Linked DNA regions of Homo sapiens: region 1 is linked to region 2. The links are contacts of gene promoters, found by promoter capture Hi-C in blood cells and fetal thymus (Javierre and others, 2016). All regions are on one chromosome and are shown on one strand. Each heading gives the region's core, a stretch centred on a gene start or on the middle of the fragment in contact. The rest is flanking DNA. Distances are from core to core; before and after follow the strand shown.

Evidence for each region. The method cuts DNA at HindIII sites, captures the fragments that hold promoters and counts their contacts. A CHiCAGO score of 5 or more calls a contact.
Region 1: a fragment that was not itself captured here is called in contact with the fragment with the promoter of MYO18B-AS1 in region 2 in 1 of 17 cell types (M0 macrophages); the score reaches 5.1 in M0 macrophages.

Annotation. Positions count from the first base shown.
Region 1 is chr22:26,307,990-26,314,698 of GRCh38, forward strand. SEZ6L (seizure related 6 homolog like) reads left to right here. Exons shown (of 17, transcript NM_021115.5): 7 at 2,681-2,847; 8 at 3,779-3,973; 9 at 5,775-5,913. Among named protein-coding and RNA genes, the nearest start is that of SEZ6L-AS1, 65 kb to the left of the region's middle. The HindIII fragment of the contact is 7,999 bases long and covers 1,183-6,709 here.
Region 2 is chr22:25,897,471-25,904,648 of GRCh38, forward strand. It overlaps MYO18B-AS1 (MYO18B antisense RNA 1), which reads right to left and starts at 2,466. Exons shown (of 3, transcript XR_938086.3): 1 at 2,246-2,466. MYO18B (myosin XVIIIB) reads left to right here. Exons shown (of 44, transcript NM_032608.7): 29 at 837-991; 30 at 5,143-5,266; 31 at 6,161-6,361. The HindIII fragment of the contact is 4,296 bases long and covers 1-3,087 here.

The DNA.
Region 1 (6,709 bases), core at 3,932-6,431, 410 kb after region 2:
GTGTATCAGTAGGAAGAGAAGTTTGTAGAGTTCATCAAGGTTAAAGGTCAACACACACACAAAAATGATGAAGACACTACTCTCTGGGCCAAGAAGAAAAGAGAAATCAATTATGTCTGTCCCATGTACTTTATTGAGGGGGAAATGGCTAAAATACCACAATATGTCAGTTGCAAGAACTCAGAGCTAGATAAGACTCTACATAAGAAATGGGACTTTGACCTAAAGTCAAAATGGAAGGAGATTGGATAATGGATCCAAAAATACAGAGGGAGGGGTATTCCAAGCATGGAGAATTGGAGGATGAGCACAAAGATGGAGGGGAAAGAATTAGCAAATTTGTTGGGGGGCTGCAGCAGAAGCTCTCATGAGAACAGGAGGAAAGAGATCTGGGAAGCTAGATTGGGGTTATATCCTGAAGGATTTTGAATGCCAGGCTACTTTTATAGGCAATAGAGAGCCTATAAAAGTCTTTTTAGTCGAGGAGGGACATGAATAAAGATTTTAAGATGATTTTCCTCAAAATGAACCCTTTCTAAACTCCAGTCTCATAATATGCCCCCAAAAAAGTGAGTTCTCTGGTCAAACATGTTTGGGAGACACTGCGCCCACCCTATCCTTGCCTTGAAAGGTCGTAATATGTACTAGCTAACAAAGGCACTGATAAGTCCTGCAGGGAAAAAAAAGTTTAATTTTTATTTAATTCAGCATTTTGCAAATCCATTTGACCATAGACTATTAAGAATTTGAGAGAAAATGTATTACTATTGCAGACATTCTAGAAAATATGGTTAGAAAATTGTTGGTTTTAAAAGATTAATAGACTACAGAGATTTTGAGATCTTGAAGCTTTCCTCCAGAGCAACCCTCTTTGCCAAAGGCTTCTGTTCTTTGAAAGAGGTGTCCCAACACACAGCCCCTAAGATATAACAGAGTCATCAGGAATCAGAAGACTATGTAGATGCCCCTTCCCACTCCTGGAATGCCCCCTGGACTCTACCACAGCCCCCATCCTTGCCTCAGCCATACTGGACACATGGCAAAATAAACAAACTGTGGCTGCAACATTTATACATCTTAGTGACATTAGAAATTCATCTGGGCAGCATAAAATAAACTATTTTTATGAGTCAGTAAAAACCTCAAAGGCTTAAAAATGTGTGTTTATGACTCCATAAAAGAAGCTTATCTAATTTGTATATGGTTTTCTTCACCATTTTTGCATAATTTCTTTAAAAAACCAAGGCTAGCAAGAAGTCAACTTCAAATAGCTTTAATAACAATAAAAATAAATACCCAACATTTTGTTTAACACATTTTATTTTTCAGGGCACTTTTTATTTTGCAATATTCTCAAAGCCCACCTGTAAGATGGGTCAGAACGACGTTATGGTTGGGTCTCTCCTTTCACAGTTGAGGACACTGAGGCTGAAAGGTGTTTTAAGACTTAATGTAAATCCAGATGGGGAATTGAGAAATGGGAATTATGACTCTTGACTTCCCACACAGTGCTCTTAGAAAATGGGGATCAGAGACAGAGCCTGGTGGGAGTCAAATGCTTAATAAACAAAACTTACCTACCGTGTCCTGTTAACTATTTTTTTTTTAAGACCGAGTCTTGCTCTGTCACCCAAGCTGGAGTGCAGTGGCTCGATCTCGGCTCACTGCAATCTCTGGCTTCCAGGTTCAAGCAATTCTCCTGCCTCAGCCTCCAGAGTAGCAGGGACTATAGGCACGCGCCACCATATCTGTCTGATTTTTGTATTTTTAGTAGAGACGGGGTTTCACCATGTTGGCCAGGCTACTATCTAACTCCTGACCTCAGGTGATCCACCCACCTTGGCCTCCCAAACTGCTGAGATTATAGACTTGAGCCACCATGCCCCACACTCTGATATAGGTGCAATTGTACCCATTTTACAGATGAGAAAACAGAGGCTCAGAGAAGTGAAGTGTTCTTGTGCAAAGTCACACAGCTGAGAAGTGACAGAGTCAGGACTCACACCCAGGTCTGCCTGACTTTACAAAAGCCACCATTTAGGCAATGAGATTAGTCCATTATTTCCAACTTCTCAGTTAATAATAATAGTCAACATCAATTCATTAGTTCGTCGTTTGGTTTATTACATCATATACATTACTCTCCCTACAACCTCAGAATAAATCCATAAGGAAGCCAGGACAGGCATTTAGTCCCATTGTACAGAAGAGGAAACAGGTTCGATAAGGTGATGCTTGTCTGAGCACATAAGAGGTAAAGTCAGGACTGGGCGTGGTGGCTCACGCCTGTAATCCCAGCACTTTGGGAGGCCAAGGCGGGTGGATCACCTGAGGTCAGGAGTTCGAGACCAGCCTGGCCAACATGGTGAAACCCCATCTCTACTAAAAGTACAAAAATGTGCTGGGCATGGTGGGACACACCTGTAATCTCAGCTACTCGGGAGGCTGAGGCAGGAGAATCACTTGAACCTGGGAGGCGGAGGTTGCAGTGAGCCAAGATCGCACCATTGAACTCCAGGCTGGGCAACAAGAGTGAAACTCTGTCAAAAAAAAAGAGGCAGAGTTAGGTTTGGGATCCGGTAATGAGGCTCCAGAGGCAGTCGTAGCACATCCCTTCCTCTGCCATGTCAGTGACCCAGGAAGATCTGTCAGTGTCCCTCCTCTCTGCTCCCACTGCCAGGATGACGGTTCACAGCGGGCAGACCAACAAGTCAGCTCTTCTCTACGACTCCCTTCAAACCGAGAGTGTCCCTTTTGAGGGCCTGCTGAGCGAAGGCAACACCATCCGCATCGAGTTCACGTCCGACCAGGCCCGGGCGGCCTCCACCTTCAACATCCGATTTGAAGGTGAGGGTCCCTGGGAGCTTCCCTTTCTCTTGTGGGGCTGGGGGTAGCCTGGGAGCAGGGAAAGCATGGGGAGATAGAAATCTGGGCTGCGAAGGATGTGGGAAATCCCATGGCCATGTGGATCCTTTGGTTTCCAAAGACAGGCTCTTGGTTTCATTAATAATAACAATGCCTATCATTAACTGTGCACTTACTACGTGCTCAGTGCCTTCTGTGCACTGTCTGATTGGATTTCAGCTTCTGCATCATGTTTGATCCTCATCACACTGAAACATTAGAACTGTTATTCTATCTGATTTTTGGTGAGGAAACTGAGGTTTAAGACACTTGGGTGACCGGCCCAAGACCACCAGTGAACAAGGGTGGAGTTAAGATTTCTGTCCATCCTGTGCTGGGGAGCCCTGAAGCTCTGCTCCACTCCACCTAGTAGACCTCTTAGAATTTAGCCACTTCTTCCTCCAAGAAGAATTTAGCAAGAGCCTCTCCTGCTGAGACCCTGACTCTTGAAGAAGGGGTTCGCTGGGCATTTCATGTACGCTGGGGGACTTTCTGTTCTGGCTTTGCCAAGAAAAGCTGGCTTTTATCATAGACAGCCCTACAGTTTCCAGTGGCAAAAAGTCAGGGCTCTGAAGTTACGGGCCATGGGAAGGATCCATATAGGATGTGGAAAGGCATTAAAACACAACAACTCCACAGGGTGGAGAAGACAGAGATTCTTACTCCTATTTTAGATTTTTTTAAATGAGGTCCCAAGGAGTCAACTGGGTGGCCCCAGGGTTCTCAACACGTCAGCTGGAACCAGGACACGTAATTTGGTACCTGTTTTCTTTGGGGCTTTTCTAAACAGCACAGGGGACCCATCTTCTGAAATATAGCACCGTGGGGTAGTCCCTGCATCATCTGAACTGCTGCCTCTCTTTCCCTTCCTCAGCGTTTGAGAAAGGCCACTGCTATGAGCCCTACATCCAGAATGGGAACTTCACTACATCCGACCCGACCTATAACATTGGGACTATAGTGGAGTTCACCTGCGACCCCGGCCACTCCCTGGAGCAGGGCCCGGCCATCATCGAATGCATCAATGTGCGGGACCCATACTGGAATGACACAGAGCCCCTGTGCAGAGGTGAGCGGATCCACAACGCTCTTCCCACGGCACCCCAGGGATCTCCACCCTTTGGATGAGAAGACCAAGGCCCCAGCTTAGAGGCCTGTCCCCAGTTTTCATACCAACTTTAGGATTAGAACCCTTTCCAGGGTTCACTGTCCTTTGGTTCAGGGTTGCTGCTGGTCTTGAGAAAATTACAAAATGGGTGAATTTTAGAAGGTGCACCTTCTTCCAGGCATAGGTCCCACAGTGCACAGCTTAGTGAGCTGAATACTGCATGGATTTCAGCTCCTAAATACTCCCTCTGCTACGCATGCTTGTGCAGTGCACAACCCACGCAATAACCTCATTAATAAGAACAATAATAGTTCTTAATTGGTGTGTAATAATTATGCTACCAGCACTTTGCTAAGAGTGTGTGTGCATTATCTGATTTCAACCTCACCATAGCCTTATAAAGTAGATTGTATCGGCCCCATTTGTAGGTGAGAAACTAATGCTGTGAAGTGACCTGCCTAAGAACACACAAGGGGAATTGGCAGGGACAGGAATGGAACTCATGTCTCTTTGTTCTCAGAGCACTGTGCTCTGAGCCCCACTGGACAGTGTTGTAGAACCCTCATCTACACAGGCTGCAGTGGACTGTCCTGCCAGTTTCCCCATATTCTTTTTGTTGTTGAGACAGAGACTCGCTCGGCTCACTGCAGCCTCCGCTTCCCGGGTTCAAGCGATTCTCCTGTCTCAGCCTCCTGAGTAGCTGGGACTACAGGCGTGTGCCACCACAGCCGGCTAATTTTGTATTTTTAGTAGAAACGGGGTTTCACCATATCAGCCAGGCTGGTCTCGAACTCCTGACCTCAAGTGATCCACCCACCTTGGCCTCCCAAAGTGCTGGCATTACAGGCATGAGCCATCGCACCTGGCCCGTTTCCCCATATTCAAGGCTGCTGAGCCACCCTGAGCCTGGGTCTCCTGCTGGCATGTGGAGTAATGAAAGGTGCCCTCACTCCTGGCAGCCACCGCCTCAATGGCAGTTGGTGTGAAATCACAGCCTTGCCATGGTGAGGGATTGATCCCTATATTAAATGTGCCGATTTAACAGAGCGGAATTTATTGGTGCTTTGGCCTCTGCCATGTTGAGACCTTTCCAAAGTGGTAAACACAGAGTAGAATTTAAAGGGCACCTGCCGCAGCCACATCTCTGCTTCCAGTTCAGGGCCGGGACCTGTCATAGCAACATTATCTAAATTATCGAGCAGCTACCATGTGCCAGACACTGTGCAGCATGTTTGACATTCATGAGCTTAAGCCTCAAAATAACCCAATGAGGTTGGCAGTGGTATTGCCCCCATTTTGTAGAGAAAGGGAGCTGAGGCTCTGGGAAATTACATACCTCCTCCTACAGCCTGTTAGCAGCAGAGGCAAGATTGGGACCCCGGGACCACCTAACTTGAGTGGGCGGTCTCTTAGCCACTACTCACCCCGCAAAAGAGCAGAGGCTGTTGAGGAGTCATTCTGACCACTGAGCTCTGTCCTTGGTCTTGAAAGAGCAATAGCACCTCTTAGCCCAACTTTTACCAACCCTCAGGTGCAAGGTAGGCAGCTGGCCAGCTCTCATTTAATCATTACACACACACACACACACACACACACACACACGCACACACACACACGTGCTGGCTGCCCGAGGTGAAGACACCTGTCCACAGTACACAGAGATTCACGGCTGTCTGACTTCATAGCCCACATGGTTAGCCGCTATGCCACATTGACTTCTTTACAAATAAAGTCCGTCTTCTTGCCTGTCTGTCTTTTACAGCCATGTGTGGTGGGGAGCTCTCTGCTGTGGCTGGGGTGGTATTGTCCCCAAACTGGCCCGAGCCCTACGTGGAAGGTGAAGATTGTATCTGGAAGATCCACGTGGGAGAAGAGAAACGGATCTTCTTAGATATCCAGTTGTGAGTGTTTAAAATGGGTGGCCCTCTAATTTGGCAAAATTTGGGAGATTGAGAAAGAAATTGCTCCTGCTTTATTCTTTCAACCAATATTAACTAAGCATCTACTATGTGCCGGGACTATGCAGAGAACAGGCATTCCCATAGTGAGACCAAGAACAGCATCACAAATACACACACACACACACACACACACAGAGAGAGAGAGAGAGGAGAGAGAGAGAGAGTCCCTATCTTTGGGAAATTCAGCCTAGGAAACAAATATGAAATGAGGACATACACAAATAATTGCATACTCTAACTTCAATATGTGATGTAAGGAGAGGTTAATGGTGCTATGAGATTCTTTAACTGGAATTTGATATAAAAAGGAAGGTCAGAGAAGTCTTCCCCGAGGATCTGATACTAAAGCTCAGAACTAAAAGATGAGTTGGAGTGATGCATCCCAAATGAACAGAATGTGCAAAGGCCCTGTGGCAAGCATCTCATTTTCAAAGGACCAAATGGCCAGTGTGGCCAGCAAGAAGGGGGCACTGTAACACCCATTTACTGGACTACAGTTGTTTATTTTCCTGTTTGTCTCCCTCAACTAGACCAGAAGGTCCTCTCCTCTGGGGCTGGGTCTGACTACCCTCTGTTTCCACAGTCTAACGCAGAGTCTGATACACAGTAGATGCTCAGGAAATGATTGCTGAATGAAAAAAAATGTTTTTAATGAACGGACTTACTTAGCTGTGCGGCTGGGTTTCCTGTATTCACAGGGGGTAACCATTAGATTCTCCATCCAGAATGTTCCCCG
Region 2 (7,178 bases), core at 1,216-3,715:
TGCAGGAAAGCAGCCCAGTTCTTTAATAACAAATTATAAAGTTGAGTCAGTTTCCCTGATGAAGGGGGATATTTATGCTACATTAAAAAGTAATAAAACAGCAACCTTTTCTGAGCAGCAGAATATAAGAGAACATCCCATTTGCCTTCAAATACTGAATTTAGAATTACAGGCTTCATTAACTCAGAGTTTTGCTTATTTAAAGCAATTTTTTAATGAGGCCATTTCTTCAAAGCCAGTGTGCTGAGTTGCGTGCTCTTTCCCAGATCTAAACTAGGACATTTGGGAGAGTGTTTCCTGGAGGAAGATGCAAGAGTCTTGACTTTTGTTTGTTTAAGGCCGTGTGCATTCTGGTATTAATTCAGTCCATGCAAAGTGCCATTTGCTGCTTTAACCTTTAAGGCTTGTCACTTGGGATTCCGGGTCAGATTTTCTAGGTATGTCATTTTGGCTGCTCTGTGGCTAATCCTCACATATCCCTTCTGATCATGTCGGCTGGTGGGGATATGAGTTATCCGGTGGCTCAGGGGTCATCAAGTTGAGGCAGGGTAGGTAAAGTCTGTGGGTGCATTGGCTGGAGGTTTATTGAGCAAAAGTAAAATCAACCTTAAGAGATTGATGGAATTATCCCCACTTTACCTCTGAGCAAACTGAGGCTCAGAAAAGTAGCTTCCTGGAGGTGACCCTGGAGGAAGGTAGTCAAGACAGGGTCTCCCCATTCCAGCATCTGCTGTTTTCTCATTACACACCTTGGAAATAGCAACTCCTTGAAATACAAAGTAAAAAGCTCGTTCCATGCCCACAGAGCCGGGTAATTCATTCTATTACTCTTACAGCTTGGGGAGTTGCAAAGTGCTTATGACGGGGCCAAGAAGATGGCTCACCAACTGAAGAGGAAGTGCCACCATCTTACCTGTGACCTTGAGGATACCTGCGTCCTGCTAGAGAACCAACAAAGTCGAAACCATGAGCTGGAGAAGAAGCAGAAGAAGTGAGTTGCATCTCTCACCATCACCTGGGCTGCCAGGGTGGGCTACATTGGAGCTGGCGTTTTCTGGGGTATCCAGGTTCTCCTAACTCCCTCACTTCAACTCCCTTGTTTTGCTCTAATCTTCCTCCCTGTCCCGTCACACCTTATTCCTGTATGGTTCTCCCAAGAATCCAGCAAGAAATTATTCTTTTCTCTTAGCCAGCCTCAACTATGTGGCCAATTGATCTTGTGACCTTGGGGAACTTTCTTTGCCTTTCTGGGCCTTAACATCCCCATTTGTCGAGTGAAGGGTTTGTTGCAGACGGTCAAGACAGCATGGCGATTAGGAGCCCAGGCATTGATATAAAAGTCATCTCATTCAAGTCCTAAAGGTGCCTCTTTCTAGATGTGTGACCTTGAGCAGGTCATTCAGTCCTTCCCAGCCAGATTCCTTATCCGTAGGTTGGTGATAAGATCGCCCCCTTGTGCTGAGGACTAAATGATGCAGTCAGTACATCTAAGTGGACTGATCCTGGTTCCTCTTCCTGTTGGTGAAAATTGGGCTAGAGAATAAGGAGGAGGCCAAAATATGGCCTTCTCATTTAGGACTTGGACTCTCAGATCACGTGAGCCATTCTGGCAGAGACTGGGCCTTGTGCACCAGCAAGATGCTAATCTTGAATCTGCACGGTGTGGTTCCCATATTTGCATTCCCTTTGGGTTGCTGTTACAGTGAGGCGATGGTGGAGCCTGGATTTGTACCCAGATTCGCACACTCATAGGCTTCTTCATGCAAAACCTCAGAACCTGTGATGCTTGGACGCCTTGGCTGTGTCTAAAGTTCTCCAGCTCACTCGGTGAGGGGAAAGGTATACAGGGGTCCTGTTTTGAGCCAGCCAAGTCCTAATGGAGATGTCATACTAGGCAAATAGGTGGGAAGCAGCCTCTTTTAGAAGGCCCATGATAAAATACAGAAAAATGTTCCTGTGTGAGCCAAGATGTGAATTTGTGGAAACTGCCTCCTTTCCAAGAAGTAGGAAGGAGAATTATATTTCCATGGAGGTGGCATAGATTTTGAACTTGATCTGCATTAAATATTATTTATCTTATTTATCCTACAGCTTTCCTGAGCTGGCTTCTTCATCTGACAAAGGTCTTTGGGGGATTGTTAGCGTGCTCTGCATCCCCAAAATAAGAAAGATTTATTTTTTGTTTATTGATATCTCACTCTGTTCCCCTTTCCACCTCCCTGTGGGTGCTCTGGCTGAACCTTACCCCTGCAGTGGGGAAAATGGCTTGGCTCCATCTTGGCCACCTGCTGTGTGTCCTTGGCAAATAACACCACCTCTCTGGGCCAGAGAGTGACTGATGGTTCAGATGGTGCAGAAGTCTCAGTTTAACAGGTCATCTGATCTGGAAGAATGGCTCTGACATATACCCCTGTCTGTGAAACAAGAGGTTGGGACTCCATCATTCCCCAAGTTTCTCCCAGCTGTGACCCTCTTGGCCCCCAACTATGGGTTCTACTCCTGTTCTGAGAGGCCTAACTGAGGGTTTCAACTCTCTGATGAGTAAGGGGCCAGCCTCTGGAGTTTGTGCAGCCAGAAAATTCCATCTGTCTGGTCTTTCCTTTTCCCTTTGGACAGAATCCCTCATTCCAGGCACTTATGAATCTCCCCAGGATACCCCCCAAGCAAAGTTCCTATTTCTTCATATTTGCATGCCCTCCTCTCAAAACTTAGCTTTCTTGTGATGCCCTCTGCTCTGTTACCATCTCTAGGCAGAAGCTAATTTATGTTTTGATGCCAATTGCAGATAGCAGGCATTACCTTTCCAGGTAGATTAGCATTTTATGTCTCAGTCTAACTGTGGAAGTTCAGGCAGAATGACTATGGTGAAGGGAAAATTTAGAAGTCAGTAATACTTCCTTGCATCTCTCGATGCTTAATCGAAATGTAGATGCAGCTGCCTCCTGAGTTTGCTGGGCCCAGGATAGAGTGATGCCTCCACATTGGTAGAGTTCTCTGTTTCCCGCTTTGGCTTCTAAGTTCAGAGTGGCCTGGGATGGTTTCATTTTGGTTGGATTGTTTGTGGCATGATTACCCTATGGGTCACAAAGCTTGGTTCTGAGGGCTGATGAAATTCCGGGTAAGCCCTGTGCTAGACTCACTGATTCCCACACTCAAGGGTGGCTGGACCCAAGGCCCTTTCTTAACAGATTGAAGGTTGTGTGCAAACCTATCTGGCCTCAGGCAATTGGCTGGTCAGTGTGGGCTGTTTGCTAGGAGCTGGTGTTTGTAGTAGCTATTCTTTGGCATCAAGTGGCCTGTTAAGTCAAGGACTCCTCTGCACCATCAGTTACTGTCTGGTCCCTACTGTCTTACCTCACCTGTCCCAGGAATGGACAGGTAGATGGGGGACTAGCTAAGACATTAGGGAAGCCCAAGTCCATTTCTACCACTTTGGAATTTGGGGCTGAATCACTCCTCCTCTCCGAGTGATTTCAGTTTCCTCCTCAGTGAATGGATCGAATAACATGTTTCTTGCTGAACTGTTGTAAGGACGACATGGATCCCAGCCCAGGACCTGACACACTGGGACTGCTGGATCATCACCCTCATCACAATGCTTCCATTCAGAGGCAGCAAATAGTGCCCCTTGAATGATGTCACCAACAGCCAATCAGAAAGCTCCTGAGCTGTTCCAACAGGAGGGCTCCATTATGATTGGGTCTCTCAGAAGTCTGAGACTTTGAATGATAGTCTAGTATTAAGGAACACTGGATAGTCTTATAATAAGCGAGACTTTCTTGCCACCAAAGGCCAAACCCCATGCCCACTTCTGCCATATCAAGATCTCTGGAACAATGGGACTTCCTGTTTGGGCCAAGGGGAAGTGACTGAAAGTCACACCTTACTGAGGCTTGGCAAAGCCTTCTCTATCGGTTTCCTCACCTGTGATACTGCCAGGAGGCTGAGACAACTGAACAGAGTGACATAACATCCAGGAGGGGCTTCTCACCCAGTGGTCATCACAGAAGGGCAGGAGGGCCCCTAACAAGGCATTAATTCCCTGGATGACTTTCAGTAGGACTGACTAGTCTTTGTGTTTTCTGCTTGAGAAACAAATGAGGACAAGAATGTATAAATGTCCATCATTTTATTGATAATCAGCATGCTTTAGTATGGCATATGAGAGTATAAGCCAGACAATATGTTAAAATATGAAATGTAGAATATCCTCATTCTACTTACATCCATTCGTTTGTTCATTGGTCAGGAAATATTGGAAGTCAAATGGGGCCTGGTAGATTTAAGGGGCCTTGACATATGCTGGCAGACCAGATAGATCAGGTTTTTGGGTTGGTTTTTTTTTTTTTTTTTTTTTTTTGAGACAAGGTCTTGCTCTGTCACCCAGACTGGAGTGCAGTGGCACAATCATGGCTCACTGCAGCCTTGGCCTCCTGGGCTCAAGGGATCCTCCCACCTCAGCCTCCAGAGTAGCTGGGATTACAAGTGCATGCCACGATGCCCAGGTAATTTTAAATTTTAAATTTTTAAAGTTTAAAAATTTTAAAAATAGAGATGGGGTCTCACTTTGTTGACCAGGCTGGTCTTTAACTCCTGGCCCCAAGTGATCCTCCTTCCTCGGCCTCTCAAAGTGTTGGGATTACAGGCGTGAGCCACCATGCCTGGCCACCTTTAAAATATATCCTTTATTCTATATCTGTATATAGTTTTATTCTATTTTTATTCCTGTCCATATATTTTTATTAGATTTTAGGGTTAGCATTTAGATTAGCATTTTAGTAGGGAGATGATGGGGGCAGCAGAAGTCTCAGTCTAACAGTGGAAATTCAGGCAGAATGACTATGGTGAGGGAGAAATCTAGAATTATAAGTATATCGAATAGTTCTGTGGCAAGTCTACCTCAACCCTAAAAATTGCTCTGTGGTTTTTCAGATTCCCACCCTACATCCACAGCCTTACGTAAAAGCATTGAGAAAAACTTCCAACTTCTCATACTTTCTCTATCTCTCTTCTTCCTTTTGCTCTCTTTCTAATGGTTCTTGGGAAACTAGCGGCCTCTCTGCAGCCCCTCCCTGCCCCTGCCTCAATCACTCCCCTGCCCACCTGCCTACGGGGCCCTGACACGTGCTCTGCTTTGCACAGGTTTGACCTGCAGCTGGCCCAGGCCCTAGGTGAGTCAGTGTTTGAGAAGGGTCTCCGTGAGAAAGTGACCCAGGAGAACACCAGTGTCCGGTGGGAGCTAGGCCAGCTTCAGCAGCAGCTGAAGGTAAGGGATGGGGGACACAGAGCTATCTTGGCTCTTGGTGGCTAAATCTCGGGAAACTGCATCGTGCACCTGCTGCAAATGGTGACAGAGAGAAAACTTCACAAGGGTATCCTGGTCTGTCAAGCAGCTGAATCCCAGTGTGTCTTAATAAAATAGCAAATGGTGGCTGGTAAATTGATAATCAGACTTTGAGCAAGATTGATGTCTTGATCTTGCTTCAGTTACCTGCACAGGTTCCGAGGTGCTTACCTGGGAGGTATAACAGGCTCAGCAGAGAATGAGTTAGCTATAACCTTGTCCAGGAGCAATGTCCTGGTCCAAGCAGGCTCCAATGCAGAGAGATTTTACTAAAATACAACACGGGTGCCTCACTCAGCTGCTCCTCATCCTTTTGTGGTTCTCTACTACTCGCAGGAGAACCTCTGAGCGCTTTAGCCTGGCGTTCAACTCCTTCACGATCTGGCCCAAAGTTATTTGATCCTGGAGCTGACTTTGTAACCTGGAAGAGTCATTTCTGAGCACTTTGCCTCCCTGCTCCAACATCTCAATCCCAGCCTCAGACGGCACACAGGGAAGCTTTAGCTGTGTGCCTCCACTTCCCTTACAAATGGGGTCAACCCTTCCTGTAGGTGCTCTGAGATCGAACTCTAGGGACAATTTATTCCAATCCTACCTCCCACCCCCAACTCCATGCCTGTAGGAGCTATACCAAGAGCAGCCCTTGCTGGTGTCCCACAGGGGGCGCTGTGAGGGACGGTGGGGTCCAGGTGGAAATGGCAGGCATTGGAAAGTGGAAAACGCCACTCCAGCCCCAGTTGGTTGTAGAGGTATCCCTGGGGGAGGAGGGAGGCATACTCATGTGACTCCAGATCTCTGTCCTCTTTGTCTCTGTAGCAAAAGGAGCAGGAAGCCTCACAGCTGAAGCAGCAGGTGGAGATGCTACAGGACCATAAACGGGAGCTGCTGGGGTCACCCTCTCTGGGGGAAAATTGCGTTGCTGGCTTGAAGGAGAGGCTCTGGAAGTTGGAATCCAGCGCCCTTGAGCAACAGAAAATCCAGAGCCAGCAGGAAAACACCATCAAGCAGCTGGAGCAGGTAGGAAAGCCCTGTCTCAGGGCAACACCCTGTCCCATGTCTCCAATGCAGAGTGATGTTATTAAAATACAATGTGGGTGCCTCACTTGGCTGCTCCTCATCCTTCAATGGCTCCCTATTATCCCAGGGAACCTTTAAGCTCCTAAGTCTGACATTCAGATCCTTCCTGATCCAGCTCTCCCCTGCAAGGTTCAGTGTCACCTCCTCAGAGAAGCCTGCCTTAATCATCTTGCAAATAGCTCCCACTAGGTTGCATTCATTTCCCATCTCCTTAGCTGGGTTGCTTTACTCTCTGGTACCTGCCATCGTATTAGATAGTATTTTTTAAAAGTTTGCTTTATGCCTTTCTCTCTCATTAACATATAAGCTTCATGAAGTCAGATTGTTTTTCTCTTTCTCTTGCTTCTTAGTGCAATCCTAGAGCCTAGAATGAGGCCAGGTACATAGCTGATGCTCAATAAATAGCTGTTGACCAAATATCTAACATTCATTGAGTACTGTCTGTATACTAACCTCAGCCCTAAGCTCTCCCCACACATCTCACGAATCTCCACATGAACCTTATGTAGGGAGATCTTAGTATTATCCCCACTTTACGGATGTAGAAGTTGAGACTCAGAGACATGGAGAAAGTATCAGGGATGGGATTTGGAACCTGTGTCATCTGACCCCACACTGCCTCGAATGTCTGCTATGTGCTAGGCATTGTGCACAGCTTCGGGGCAGATTGAAGTGCTACTCTTTGGGGAAAATAAAATAACAAAGGGAATAAGACAAAAATATCAAATACTCTTGTACCAGTACCCTCTGCAAAGTA